Regions from separate parts of the Homo sapiens genome. Here regions 2 and 3 are each linked to region 1. Evidence: promoter capture Hi-C in human tissues and cell types (Jung and others, 2019). All regions are on one chromosome and are shown on one strand. The core of a region is centred on a gene start or on the middle of the fragment in contact, and the rest is flanking DNA. Distances in the headings are between cores, read along the strand shown. Region 1 holds the start of CEBPD (CCAAT enhancer binding protein delta). Region 2 overlaps SPIDR (scaffold protein involved in DNA repair). Region 3 overlaps SPIDR (scaffold protein involved in DNA repair).

The links. Contacts are between HindIII fragments. The study calls those that stand out against the background at their distance.
Region 2: a contact is called between a fragment that was not itself captured here and the fragment with the promoter of CEBPD in region 1, in 4 of the 25 tissues and cell types used here (adrenal gland, bladder, mesenchymal stem cells and 1 more).
Region 3: a contact is called between a fragment that was not itself captured here and the fragment with the promoter of CEBPD in region 1, in 2 of the 25 tissues and cell types used here (aorta and lymphoblastoid cells).

Annotation. Positions count from the first base shown.
Region 1 is chr8:47,735,699-47,739,754 of GRCh38, reverse strand. CEBPD (CCAAT enhancer binding protein delta) reads left to right here and starts at 1,591. Exons shown (of 1, transcript NM_005195.4): 1 at 1,591-2,842. The coding sequence starts at 1,635. The coding sequence ends at 2,444. SPIDR (scaffold protein involved in DNA repair) reads right to left here. Exons shown (of 20, transcript NM_001080394.4): 20 at 3,449-4,056. RefSeq lists silencers at 763-1,232, 1,323-1,402, 1,443-1,552, 2,043-2,232 and an enhancer at 1,629-2,567. The HindIII fragment of the contact is 24,041 bases long and covers 1-4,056 here.
Region 2 is chr8:47,701,350-47,705,815 of GRCh38, reverse strand. It overlaps SPIDR (scaffold protein involved in DNA repair), which reads right to left. Exons shown (of 20, transcript NM_001080394.4): 13 at 3,952-4,095; 14 at 3,801-3,860. Among named protein-coding and RNA genes, the nearest start is that of CEBPD, 35 kb to the left of the region's middle. The HindIII fragment of the contact is 6,895 bases long and covers 1-4,466 here.
Region 3 is chr8:47,684,791-47,688,702 of GRCh38, reverse strand. The region is part of intron 11 of SPIDR (scaffold protein involved in DNA repair); the gene reads right to left. Among named protein-coding and RNA genes, the nearest start is that of CEBPD, 51 kb to the left of the region's middle. The HindIII fragment of the contact is 4,038 bases long and covers 1-3,502 here.

The DNA.
Region 1 (4,056 bases), core at 342-2,841:
CAGCACTTTGGGAGGCTGAGGCCGGCGAATCTCTTAAGCCCAGGAGTTTGAAACCAGCCTGGACAATATTGTGAGATCCCATCTCAATTTTTTTTTTGAGATGGAGTCTCGCTCTGTCGCCCAGGCTGGAGTGCAATGGAACGATCTCGGCTCACTGCAACCTCCGCCTCCCGGGTTCAAGCGATTCTCCTGCCTCAGCCTCCCGAGTAGCTGGGATTACAGGCGCACGCCACTACGCTTGGCTAATTTTTGTATTTTTAGTAGAAATGGGGTTTCACCATGTTGACCAGGCTGGTTTCAAACTCCTGACCTCAAGTGATCCGCCCACCTCAGCCTCCCAAAATGCTGGGATTACCGGCATGAGCCACTGTGCTCGGCTGAAAAAAACCATATTTTTAATTTAAAATAATAAATGGGTCTGACCAGAAATGCCTGCCTCAAATTGCAGGACACATGACAAAGCCCATTCTTACTTAAGACATTTTCAGTGTGCGATGGGTCTACCGGGATGTAACCCCATCGTGAGTCGAGGCCCATCTGCACCCTGCTATAGCTACTGGTAGATCTTACCTGTTTCCCAAAAAGGACCCAACTACTTTAGGTTCAAGGCACTTTTTTGGAATATTTAACAGGGAAAGAGCCTGGAACTAAAAACAGGTCTAACGCAAGATGCCGCCACACGATGGCACTGCTTCCGTAGACCTGGAAGAAACGCGGGCGCGGGAGCTGGCGGCGGACGCCCGGGTCTGCGGGGTCGGGGAGTAGCGTCCGGCCGGAGAGCCCGCACCTCGAGGAGCCGGCGGAGGACGCGGTGTCGTGACCGCGTCTCCCCCATCTGCTCTGCTTTTGGCGACAGCGTCCCGTCGGCCTTTCGGCCAGGACGCAGCAGCCGCGTCTCTGGGCCTCGACCCCCAGGGCCGGCCGGACCCGGGACCTCCGAGGAGAGCAGCGAGAACCGGCCCGGATTCCCCGAGGCGCCCGAGTGCGGTGCGGGCAGCCCTCCCCGCCTGCCAGGCCGCCGCTGTCCCCACGTCTGGTCCCCCACGCCTCTTCCCGCATCTGGTCCCACGGTGGAGGCGCGGGGCGAGGGCCTCACGCGCGTGCCCACGGTCGGGGGGCGTCCTTGGACGCGCGGGTCCTCTCCCACGGGTCTCCACCCCCCGCCCTCCGGCGACAGGAGCCGGCCTGGGACGCGCGCGCTGCGGCCAAGTCCTGGTTTTGATTTCACTCCCAACCCCGAGGAGCGAGGAGGTTCCAAGCCCACAAACAGGAAGAAGAGAAGGCCCTGGAGTGCTGGCAGAGGGAGTGTCATTCCCAGCAGCGCAGCGCAGGCCGGCCCGGGCCGGGGAGGGAGCAGCAGCGCGGGCACCCTCCTGCAACGTGGGCTGGGGGTCCCCAGGGCCGGGGAGGGGGCCCCGGGGAGGAACTGAGAGGGGGCGCGCCCCGGGAAGGCTCGGGGCGGCTCCGGGGGGCTCCCAGGGCGCCCCCGCCCCTTCCCCCGCGGCCCCGGGGCGCCCCCGCGGTGCCGGAGTCGGGGCGGGGCGTGCACGTCAGCCGGGGCTAGAAAAGGCGGCGGGGCTGGGCCCAGCGAGGTGACAGCCTCGCTTGGACGCAGAGCCCGGCCCGACGCCGCCATGAGCGCCGCGCTCTTCAGCCTGGACGGCCCGGCGCGCGGCGCGCCCTGGCCTGCGGAGCCTGCGCCCTTCTACGAACCGGGCCGGGCGGGCAAGCCGGGCCGCGGGGCCGAGCCAGGGGCCCTAGGCGAGCCAGGCGCCGCCGCCCCCGCCATGTACGACGACGAGAGCGCCATCGACTTCAGCGCCTACATCGACTCCATGGCCGCCGTGCCCACCCTGGAGCTGTGCCACGACGAGCTCTTCGCCGACCTCTTCAACAGCAATCACAAGGCGGGCGGCGCGGGGCCCCTGGAGCTTCTTCCCGGCGGCCCCGCGCGCCCCTTGGGCCCGGGCCCTGCCGCTCCCCGCCTGCTCAAGCGCGAGCCCGACTGGGGCGACGGCGACGCGCCCGGCTCGCTGTTGCCCGCGCAGGTGGCCGCGTGCGCACAGACCGTGGTGAGCTTGGCGGCCGCAGGGCAGCCCACCCCGCCCACGTCGCCGGAGCCGCCGCGCAGCAGCCCCAGGCAGACCCCCGCGCCCGGCCCCGCCCGGGAGAAGAGCGCCGGCAAGAGGGGCCCGGACCGCGGCAGCCCCGAGTACCGGCAGCGGCGCGAGCGCAACAACATCGCCGTGCGCAAGAGCCGCGACAAGGCCAAGCGGCGCAACCAGGAGATGCAGCAGAAGTTGGTGGAGCTGTCGGCTGAGAACGAGAAGCTGCACCAGCGCGTGGAGCAGCTCACGCGGGACCTGGCCGGCCTCCGGCAGTTCTTCAAGCAGCTGCCCAGCCCGCCCTTCCTGCCGGCCGCCGGGACAGCAGACTGCCGGTAACGCGCGGCCGGGGCGGGAGAGACTCAGCAACGACCCATACCTCAGACCCGACGGCCCGGAGCGGAGCGCGCCCTGCCCTGGCGCAGCCAGAGCCGCCGGGTGCCCGCTGCAGTTTCTTGGGACATAGGAGCGCAAAGAAGCTACAGCCTGGACTTACCACCACTAAACTGCGAGAGAAGCTAAACGTGTTTATTTTCCCTTAAATTATTTTTGTAATGGTAGCTTTTTCTACATCTTACTCCTGTTGATGCAGCTAAGGTACATTTGTAAAAAGAAAAAAAACCAGACTTTTCAGACAAACCCTTTGTATTGTAGATAAGAGGAAAAGACTGAGCATGCTCACTTTTTTATATTAATTTTTACAGTATTTGTAAGAATAAAGCAGCATTTGAAATCGCCCCTGCTTCCTATATTCGCAGTGACTCCCGCCCGCCCGCCGGTGGCGCAGGACCCGGCTCGGGAAGGGTGCGTTCCGGACCCGCAGCCAGCGAGCACCAGGGAGCCCGGGCGCCAGGTGTGTGTGTGGGGGGGGCGGGGGGATGGGGCGCAGGCCCGAGCTACTCAGGAGAGAGGGTCTGTCGCTTTTAAAACGCATTAAAGGCTCTCTCCTGGCCTTATTTAACTTGCCTAAGCTAGGTGGAGCACGGCTGAGCTCAGGTAAGCTAGCAGCTTTCCAGCAGAAGGTGTTCTCCCGAAGAACGCAGACCTGGGGAAGGGTTGACTTTTTGGGGGCCCCTGCTGAGAACAGTTCAAGAGCTCCCTAACTGTAGAGGCTGCTGGAGGGGCGAGGGGCAGAACCCCGGGCTGAATCATCTCCCGCTTTCCCGGGACTTTGCTTTCACTTTCCTCAGTCTTGTGGACAGAGTCAAGTAGATTTTCAAAAGTGCTCCAGAAAGGCCGGAATAGTCATGTAGTGGATGAAAAGGGCAGTCACAAAACTGCTTAAGACCAGCTGTCTTGCCAGTAATTGCAGTGCTTTAAGATTTAATTAAAAAGCCGCCTGCCTTTAACCCAAGAACACTTGGTATTAGGGCACCATGTCTTGGTCACGGCTGCTACGTGTATCTGATGTAGTTAACCATGGCCTGTCATGATTATATTGCTATAAGGAAGGGAACAAAATCTTTATAGTGTCCAAAGATAATTAATTCTTGGTTTAAATCTTTGCCAGCAAAGCAAATATCCGACTGACTGCTCCTTAGTCTGTGATCTTTGCTCTCCGTGCACATTACCCAGCCTAATTAAAACAGGTGTGTGTGGTGGAGCCAGCTATCCCCACCACCATTCAGCAGAGACACGATCACACCAGTTCAGAGAGCTACACTTTATGGGTAACAGTTTCACCTGTGATACAGTTCCCTAGAACATTTTCCCAAAAGTAGTGAACTGCAAAGTGCTTAGGTTTGACATTTATTGTAGCAGAACAGTAATATCACAGTATGGGACAAAGGTTTACACTTTGCAGGGTATTCTTTGGGGGAATGTTAAATACTGTAATAAAAACATGTTCAATCATGGTAAAATGTTCAACTTGTTAAAATTACAAATGAACAAAAAAAATTTTTTTCTCATATATTGCCTAAATACCAAATGAAGAGCTTAAACTTAAGAT
Region 2 (4,466 bases), core at 827-3,326, 34 kb after region 1:
CCTCCCATGTCAGCCTCCCAAGTAGCTGAGATGATAGGCATGCAGCACCATGCCTGGCTAATTTTTAATTTTTTTGTAGAGACGGGGTCGTGCTTTGTTGACCAGGTTGGTCTGGAACTCCTGGCCTCAAGAGATCCTCTAGCCTCAGTCTCCCAAAGTGCTAGGATGACAGGCGTGAGCCACCACGCCTAGTCTGGGTCTGTTTTTATGACTGGAGTTCCAGCAATGACTCATGGTGCCATTCTGAAAGTCAACCCTCACTGCCAAGGATGCAGGCCACTGGCTTAACTACGGACTGGCCCCAGGAGTCAGCTTATTTCTATTCCTTCTTGAGACAGCTGGTTTCTGGTGATTCTTTTACACACAAAAGCAGACTATAGGAGACAGACAGAATTTCAGTGGATCATGGAACCTGTTCCATTGGGTTCCAGGTCTTTGACTGTTTTGTGGCTATAGGACTACTGATTCCTAGGCACACATGCCCACTGGAAGCCATGCTCACTGAAAGCTGCACTTGGCACTGGTGGGAGCCTGTTTCTTGGATAGGAGGGGATTAACATTATCTTCTCTACCTCCCTGAGGGAGGACCCCTTCACAGGGCAAGGTGGATGACCTGCTTCACTCTTGGTCTTTCTCTGCCCCAGAGCTCCCCTCCAACTGGCTTTGGTGCAAGCATTTTGACACCTGCTTTCTTTACTTTCAACCTCGGTCTCAGCCAGAGGGCCGTGGGCAGGAGTGTTAGCTGCAACTGCCACGTGGCTGCTCTGAGGACAGCATTCTCCCTATGGGTGAAAGGCACCTGCACAGAGAGCCACCGCCTGGCCCATGACCCAGAAGAGCAGGAATGTGCCAGATGCCAGGGGCATCCCTACACACACTGACCCCTCTCAAGGTAGGCAGAGGAGCGTGAAGTCAGTCTTAGGTCTCCTCAGGCTTGGAAAGTATGGGACATAGCACGTGCCCTGCCTCGTCCTTGCTGGGAGCCCTATCCTCCTATCTCCTGAGCCGGACACTGGGGTGCTCACAGGGAGCACCACTGAGGGACTCATGCCAATCATTCTCCATTTCTTCATGAGAGGCACTGATCAGCTGTCAAATGATGAAAAGGGGAACAGATGAAGAGAAAACAAAGGAAAAAGGGTATTTCAAAACTCCTAAATTCATCCTAGAACAATCCAATATGGTGAGAGAATGTTACACCCATTTGACAGACAAGGACATGAGACAACGCGGTGAAGTACCTGCACAAGCTCAGTCAGCATGTGGTTGGGGGTGGGGGTGTGTTGCGTCCCTGCCCCACCCCCAGGGCACCAGGTAACTGAGGGACCGTGGAGCCAGGAAGCACCAGGGGACACTGGGCTGAGTAAGAGTCAGGAAACCCACACCAGGCTCCACCAGGGTTTGGTTGTGTGTATCAGAGACAGCAGATAACCAGGCCTAGCCTTGGTCTTCTCCACTTGGAATTAGGAACAGTGACACTATTGCTGCTGAGATAAAATGATATGTACATGAGAATGGTTTGAAAATCTGAAAAATCTCTGACAGAATTAAAGGTGGTGAAGTATTGATAATAAAAAATAAAGAGCTAAATGTGGTTCGTTTATATTCACAACTCAGCCCTCTGATTTCCTTTCTGTGGGCAAGACTCTATGTGCTGGCAAGCACTAGCTAATCCACAGGTTAAGCTGCAGAAACACACACACACTTTCTGCAGAGAAGGAAAGGAAACGCAATTGACAGTTACTAACATATCACCTAAAGCACACTCCTTACATCTGAAATGTAAAAATTAAATTGAGATAAAGCCTTAAAGTACTTTCATATGACGATCATATGTATCAGCGCTGTGTTCTTGCGCAGCACCTATGGCATCCTTAGGTAACAAGCTTGCATCCTACTCGGTGGCCGTCAGTAGATGGCCCTCCCCGTCTCCTCTCCCTGACACACACCGCACTGTGCATTCAGTACAACCTACGGGACACCAGGAGACACTTGGGTTGTTTTTCTTTCTGCGTCAGAGTTCCTGTGTCCTCCAGCCATGCTCAGCACCTGAAGAACGTCAGCAAACCATGGCCTGTGGGCTAGGCCTGTAAGCTAAGTATGGTTTTTATGTTTATTCAAGGTTCTTACATTTTTAAATGGTTAAAAAACCGTAAGAATATTTTGTGACAAGTAAAAATTAAGTTAAATTCAAATTTTGGTGTCTGTAAATAAAGGTTTCTGAAACACAGCCCTGCTCATTCATTTGTGAATGACAACATGGCTGCTTTTGCACTGCAAGGTGGAGCTGAGTAGTTGCTATGAAAACCATACAACCCAAGAAGCCTAAAATATTGACTATCTGGCTCTTTACAGAAACAGTCTGCCCACTACCCCTGATGCAGATGGAAGAGAAGTTGATTTAACATGCTTGTGATAACACTGATTTAATGATACTCGTATATATGCAATTCATCAAGAACTTGACTAGAAGTTATGAAACATATTCTTTTAGTCACTCTCTTATTCTTCCACTGTCGAAGAATGATCAGAGAAATGCAAAGAATTTGTTCAAAATAAATGCACAACAGAAAATAACTCTGGATAACTTAAGCGGAAGAGAAAGGCTCCAAAACCAGGCAGCTGAATTGGGTTGTATGCAACCATGAATGCTTTGAAGAGATTCCTAACAAGCGTGTCGGGGTGAAATGGCATGAGGTCTGGGTGTGCTTTAGCATACTTCAGCAACAAAAAGAAAAGTGAGGGGTGTGAGTGTCAGATCTTGATAACCAGGCATAGTATGATTAGAAGACAGCCCCTGGTGCCACCCCCACCACTGTCCCCCGACTCGTGGTGCACTGGGGCACCTGGCCGAGGTTGCTGGCCAAGGTGCCAGCCTCCTGCCCTCCCTTGAGACTGCTTGCTGGGCAATTCCTGAGTATTCTGGCCTGGCTGGTAGCTGGTGATCCACCGACAGCCCAGGTGAGTGCAGGCATCTGGGGCCTGGTTTGCTCCACTCATACACACCCTCAAGGAGGCAATGTGTGGGGCACTCACTCTCTCCTGCACCATGGCAGATGCACCCGGTGCACATTGCCCATGAGTGGACAAGAGTTTAACAAACAGGATGTTCTCAATCCCTCTTGGGTGATTAGATCTACATGGATATTCCTCCATAAGGTAAGGGCTGGCAGAGGTTTCTAGCAGAATGTAGTCCATGCATTCAAACTGGCAAGCAGGTCTCCTTCCCTCCTCTACTCCTAGTTGATTGATAGCAAGCTCCTCTAGGCCACTGCTCCCTAGAACAGCCCAAGGCCTCACAGGGACCATGGAGGTGGGATGGGGGGGCTTTCAGTTTTGAAGGCTCTAAAAGTTCCCAGAAGTAGCTGAGCTCGATCCTGAGATTCCCACTTCTACCACATAAATGAGGTTTCTCCATCTCTTTCCTTTCTTCAACCTGCCTAAGTGTCGGGAAAGAATGAACATTACTGGGCTGAGAAGCTTTGGGGACAGGGTTGTACCTGGGTGTCTTACACCCCAGTGCTTAGCACAGTGGCTGGTAGTCTGCATCTGTAAAAGGAATGGATTTACTGCCACTTCAGTATATGGGGCATGCTTAACTGGACTTTAAAAACACTTCTCTGTTTTGGCAATGCATTAATTTCCAAAGGAGATTACCCTTTAATAAACCTCTAACACCGTGTGTGTGTGTGTGTGTGTGTGTGTGTGTGTGTGTGTAAGAGAGAGAGAGAGAGAGAGAGAGAGAGAGAGAGAGAGAGAGAGAAAGGCTGAGAGATTGAGAGATTGAGAGAGATTATTACCTGTGGTTTTTGGTAAATCACCGTGGCATAGAAACTGCAACGGGTACCAAGATCATTCATCTGGAAAGGAATTAGAAAAGGTTGGCAGCATTACACGAAGCACACAGACGTGGCCAATACCTAAAAAACCTGTTAGAAACAAAGACATTACCTGGAGAATGTCTCTTAAGCAGCGGGTAACTGGAGGCTGGTAAAGCTTATAAATGGGGTCTTCGTCAATTATATCAATTTGTCCCAGATTTGGATGAGCTGTGAGGATGTAACACAAGGCTGGAGGAGGCAGATGAGTTTTTATCTGTTTAAATGAGACAAAGGTAGAAGGTGAATGTATTGTTAAAAGACTCAAAAAGAGGAGATATTATTAAAATCTCCTCTTTAATATATACATATTTGCTTACAGGTGCATCCTCTCTCTGGAATGCTATACAAGGAATGGATTGCATTGTTTACTTCTGGGACCAACTATAAGAACTTCCATACTTATGAACCTATTAATTCAAGGTTTCATTTTAGAAATCTTTCGGGGTATACTGAAAATATCATCTAGAAATTACTTCCTCTTAAGTAATCTAGAAATGGCTTTTTTTTGAGACAGAGTTGCACTCTCGTTGGCTGGAGTGCAATGGCACGATCTTGGCTCACTACAACGTCTGCCTCATGGGTTCA
Region 3 (3,912 bases), core at 234-2,733, 51 kb after region 1:
ACCTGTGCCCTAGGGGATACACAGCAAGGGCTCCTGCCGCTGCCAGCAGTGGTCGGAAATGCCTAGAACAACTGCATGAACAAAGAGACTATGGTAAATGCATAAAATGGAATGAAAACGAATAAACCGGAGCTACCTGCAATAGACAGAAGAAACTTACAAGGTTTATTGGTTTAAAACTATGTTGTTTCCGTCCTCTTTTGTAAGGGTCCCCCACACCAGGGTCCTTTTGTGTGCAGCTGGGGCCGCGGCATCTCTAGTGAGCAAAAAAAGCAAAACACGGCCGGGCGTGGTGGCTCACGCCTGTAATCCCAGCACTTTGGGAGGCCGAGGCGGGCGGATCTCGAGGTCAGGAGATCGAGACCATCCTGACTAACACAGTAAAAGCCCGTCTCTACTGAACATACAAAAACTTAGCCGGGCATGGTGGCGGGCGCCTGTAGTCCCAGCTACTAGGGAGACTAAGAATGGTGTGAATCCAGGAGGCGGGGCTTGCAGTGAGCCAAGATTGCACCACTGCACTCCAGCCTGGGCAACAGAGAGAGACTCCGTCTCAAAAAATAAATAAATAAAATAAAATAAAAAGCAAAACACAAAGAATGCACAAGCATGATGCTGTTTCCATAAAGTTCAAAAACAGGTAAACCTATACGCATGCACACACACACACACACACACACACACACTTTTTTTTTTTGACAGCCAGGTCTCAATCTGTCACCCAGTGATTCTCCCATCTCAGCCTCCCAAGTAGCTAGGACTACAAGTGTGCACCACCACACTCGGCTAATTTTTTACTTTTTGTAGAGATAAGGCCTCACTATGTTGCCCAGGCTGGTCTCAAACTCCTGGCCTCAAGTGATCCTTCTGTCTTGGCCTCCCGAAGTGCTGGAATTACAGGCGTGAGCCACTGTGCCCAGCCTAAATATATTTCTAAAGATGTACAAAAAGTAGTATAACTGTAAAGAAAAACATGGAAACACTCTCAGAAGTGTGAAGATCTTTAGGATCAGGGTAGGGGCAGCAGGTGGCTTCTGGATACCCACCATGTTTATTGAATTACAGTGGTGGCTTAATGAGTGAGCTTTATTTATTCACTTATTATTTGTTACAATCTACAATTATGCCCTCTTTCATATGCTTGTTATATTTCACAGTAAAGAAGGTTAAAATATAAGCTCAATACATACAGGAGATACAGACAGAGATATACAAGGAAGTGTGTTGCAGCACTGCTTTGAAGTGGTAAACACCAGAAACAACCTGAATGTCTATCAGGAGAGGGACATCCTGGTGAAATTAAGTGAAAAACGCAAACCATATCTTTTTGTTTATAGATATGTCTACATTCGTGGAGAAAGATGTGAAAGATTACTTACCGGGGTAAATATCCAGTGGGTAAAAGGTAAAAGAGAGATTATTAAATTGTTGTTATAATTTATGTTAATTCTGTTAACAGCAACAACCAACAAAACAGTGGCTATATTATTATCACATTTATGGATCATACTGAAAGTCCTAATCTGAGGCCTTTTACAAATGTATGGTCCAGGTTCAATGGCTTCATCACAACCCACTCCGTTGTTGGTGGCTTGAGAAAGAGAAGTAAATTATCTTGCTTTTATTTAACAGTAATGAAAACTACTAAAAGTAATGATATTAAAAGTAATGGTAAAAACTGCAATTACTTTTGCACTAACCTTTTTTAAAAGCTAATTATTTTTGTTAATAAGTATCTAAGTAAACTTTGAAAAAAAAAAAGAACCCTAACTAAACCAAAAGCAGGCAGTGTAATTATTTACTATGGATTTAATACTCCTAGTTACTCAAGACAATCCTACTATAGATAGTTTATTGCTGTTGTTTAACAAAAACAGTGGAAAATACCAAGAATCTAAATTAATATCAACATCACTGACAAGAAATAATCAGATTTTTATTTTGAGGGCCAGGGGTTATAAATATAAAACAAATGAGAAATTTATAGAAATGAATTCCCCTAAAACTGGAAGTAATTAAATGTCAGCTGTAGTACTGAAAATCAGACTTTGGAATTTGGTGCACCTGTCTTAAGACCCAGCTCACATACAGGGATCCAAATTACTTAATGTCAGTGAACTTCAGGGTCTTATCTAAAAAATAAATACCATGATCTAATTTATTAGCTAGTTTGAAGGTAAAATGAAAAAATAGAGTGACTCTAGTGACACTCAAGCTTTCTTTTCTTTCCACTTTCAGCATCCCGTATTAACAGAGATTTTCTTGGCAAATTATAAAGATTTAAGTATTTTTTCCAAAATTCAAATCTGTAAGATTTTCCAATTTTGAGAATTCAGCTAATAATAGCATATTTAAAGTAAATATTTGGATTTTTTATTTGAGATTAATACAGGAACATTTCTATTCTGCTTCTGAATCATACTGCTACCCAGTGTCCCCATGGTAGCAACTACTGCCGCAAGCTATTAACCCGAGAGGAAGAAAGAAGAACTATGGAACATGTGAAATGTTTATATGGGCAATTAATCCACAACAGATGCTTTCAGACTATGCTGCTGGACTCCTAAGGAGCTGGGTGGGGAGCCATGGTGGCCCAACTCATCCACCTTCCAGAACAAACAACTTCACATAATTTGTTTTATAAGCTTCCCCTTCCCCTTCCCTTCTCTCTCCTCCTTGCTTCCTTCCTTCCCTCCCTCCCTTTCCTTGTGTATAGACAGGTCTCGAGATGTTGCCGAGGCTGGTCTTGAACTCCTGCACCCAAGTGATCCTCTTGCCTTGGCCTCCCAAAGTGCTGGGATTACAGGTATGAGCCATCGTGCCTGAACAGATTTCTATTAAAGAAAAACAGGGCCAGGTACGGTGGCTCACACCTGTAATCCCAGCACTTTGGGAGGCCGAGGTGGGCAAATCATGAGGTCAAGAGATTGAGACCATACTGGCAACATGGTGAAACCCCGTCTCTACTAAAAATACAAAAATTAGCTGGGCATGGTGGTGTGCACCTGTAGTCCCAGCTATTCGGGAGGTTGAGACAGGAGAATCGCTTGAACCTGGGAGGTGGAGGTTGCAGTGAGCAGAGATTAAAAAAAAAGAAAGAAAAACAAAAACTGAAAGTCTTAAAACCACTGATCTCTGCCAATGCACTCCAGCCTGGGCGACAGAGAGAGACTGTCTCAAAAAAATAAATAAATAAATAAATAAATAAATAAATAAATAAATAAAACCACTGACCTCCTACTGGTAGATAATTATAATTTCTGTGGTAAGAAGGACAGTGAAGGGTAGGGTGGGGGAAATATTTTTAAGAGAAGAAATGATTTAAAAAAAGAATAAAACAAAACCCTGCCCATTTACTGAATTCTAGACTTACTGTGCTGCAAGGTAAATTAACTAGTTAAATTACTAACCTGGAGGGATAAGTGGTATTTGTTTTTATGCTGTCATATCAGCTGATCTTCCATTTGTTTTTTGTTTGTTTGTTTGTTTTTTGAGACGGAGTTTTGCTCTTGTTGCCCAGGCTGGAGTGCAATGGCATGATTGGCTCACTGCAACCTCTGCCTCCAGGGTTCAAGCGATTCTCCGGCCTCAGCCTCCCAAATAGCTGGGATTACAGGCATCTGCCACCACGCCCGGCTATATTTTCAGTAGAGACAGGGTTTCACCATGTTGGCCAGGCTGGTCTCGAACCTCTGACCTCAGGTGATCCACCTGCCTCAGCCTCTCAAAGTGCTGGGATTACAGGTGTAATGGGCGCCCGGCCCATTTGGTTTCTTTTATCCCTGTTTTAACTAGATCTCTCTGTACAAATCCCACTGGCTTAATTTCCATTCCTTCCCATTATTGGGTAATTGACAATGCCTAGCAATGTCCAACTGGATGATTTATATTCTTCCTTGGGAAAAACATGGA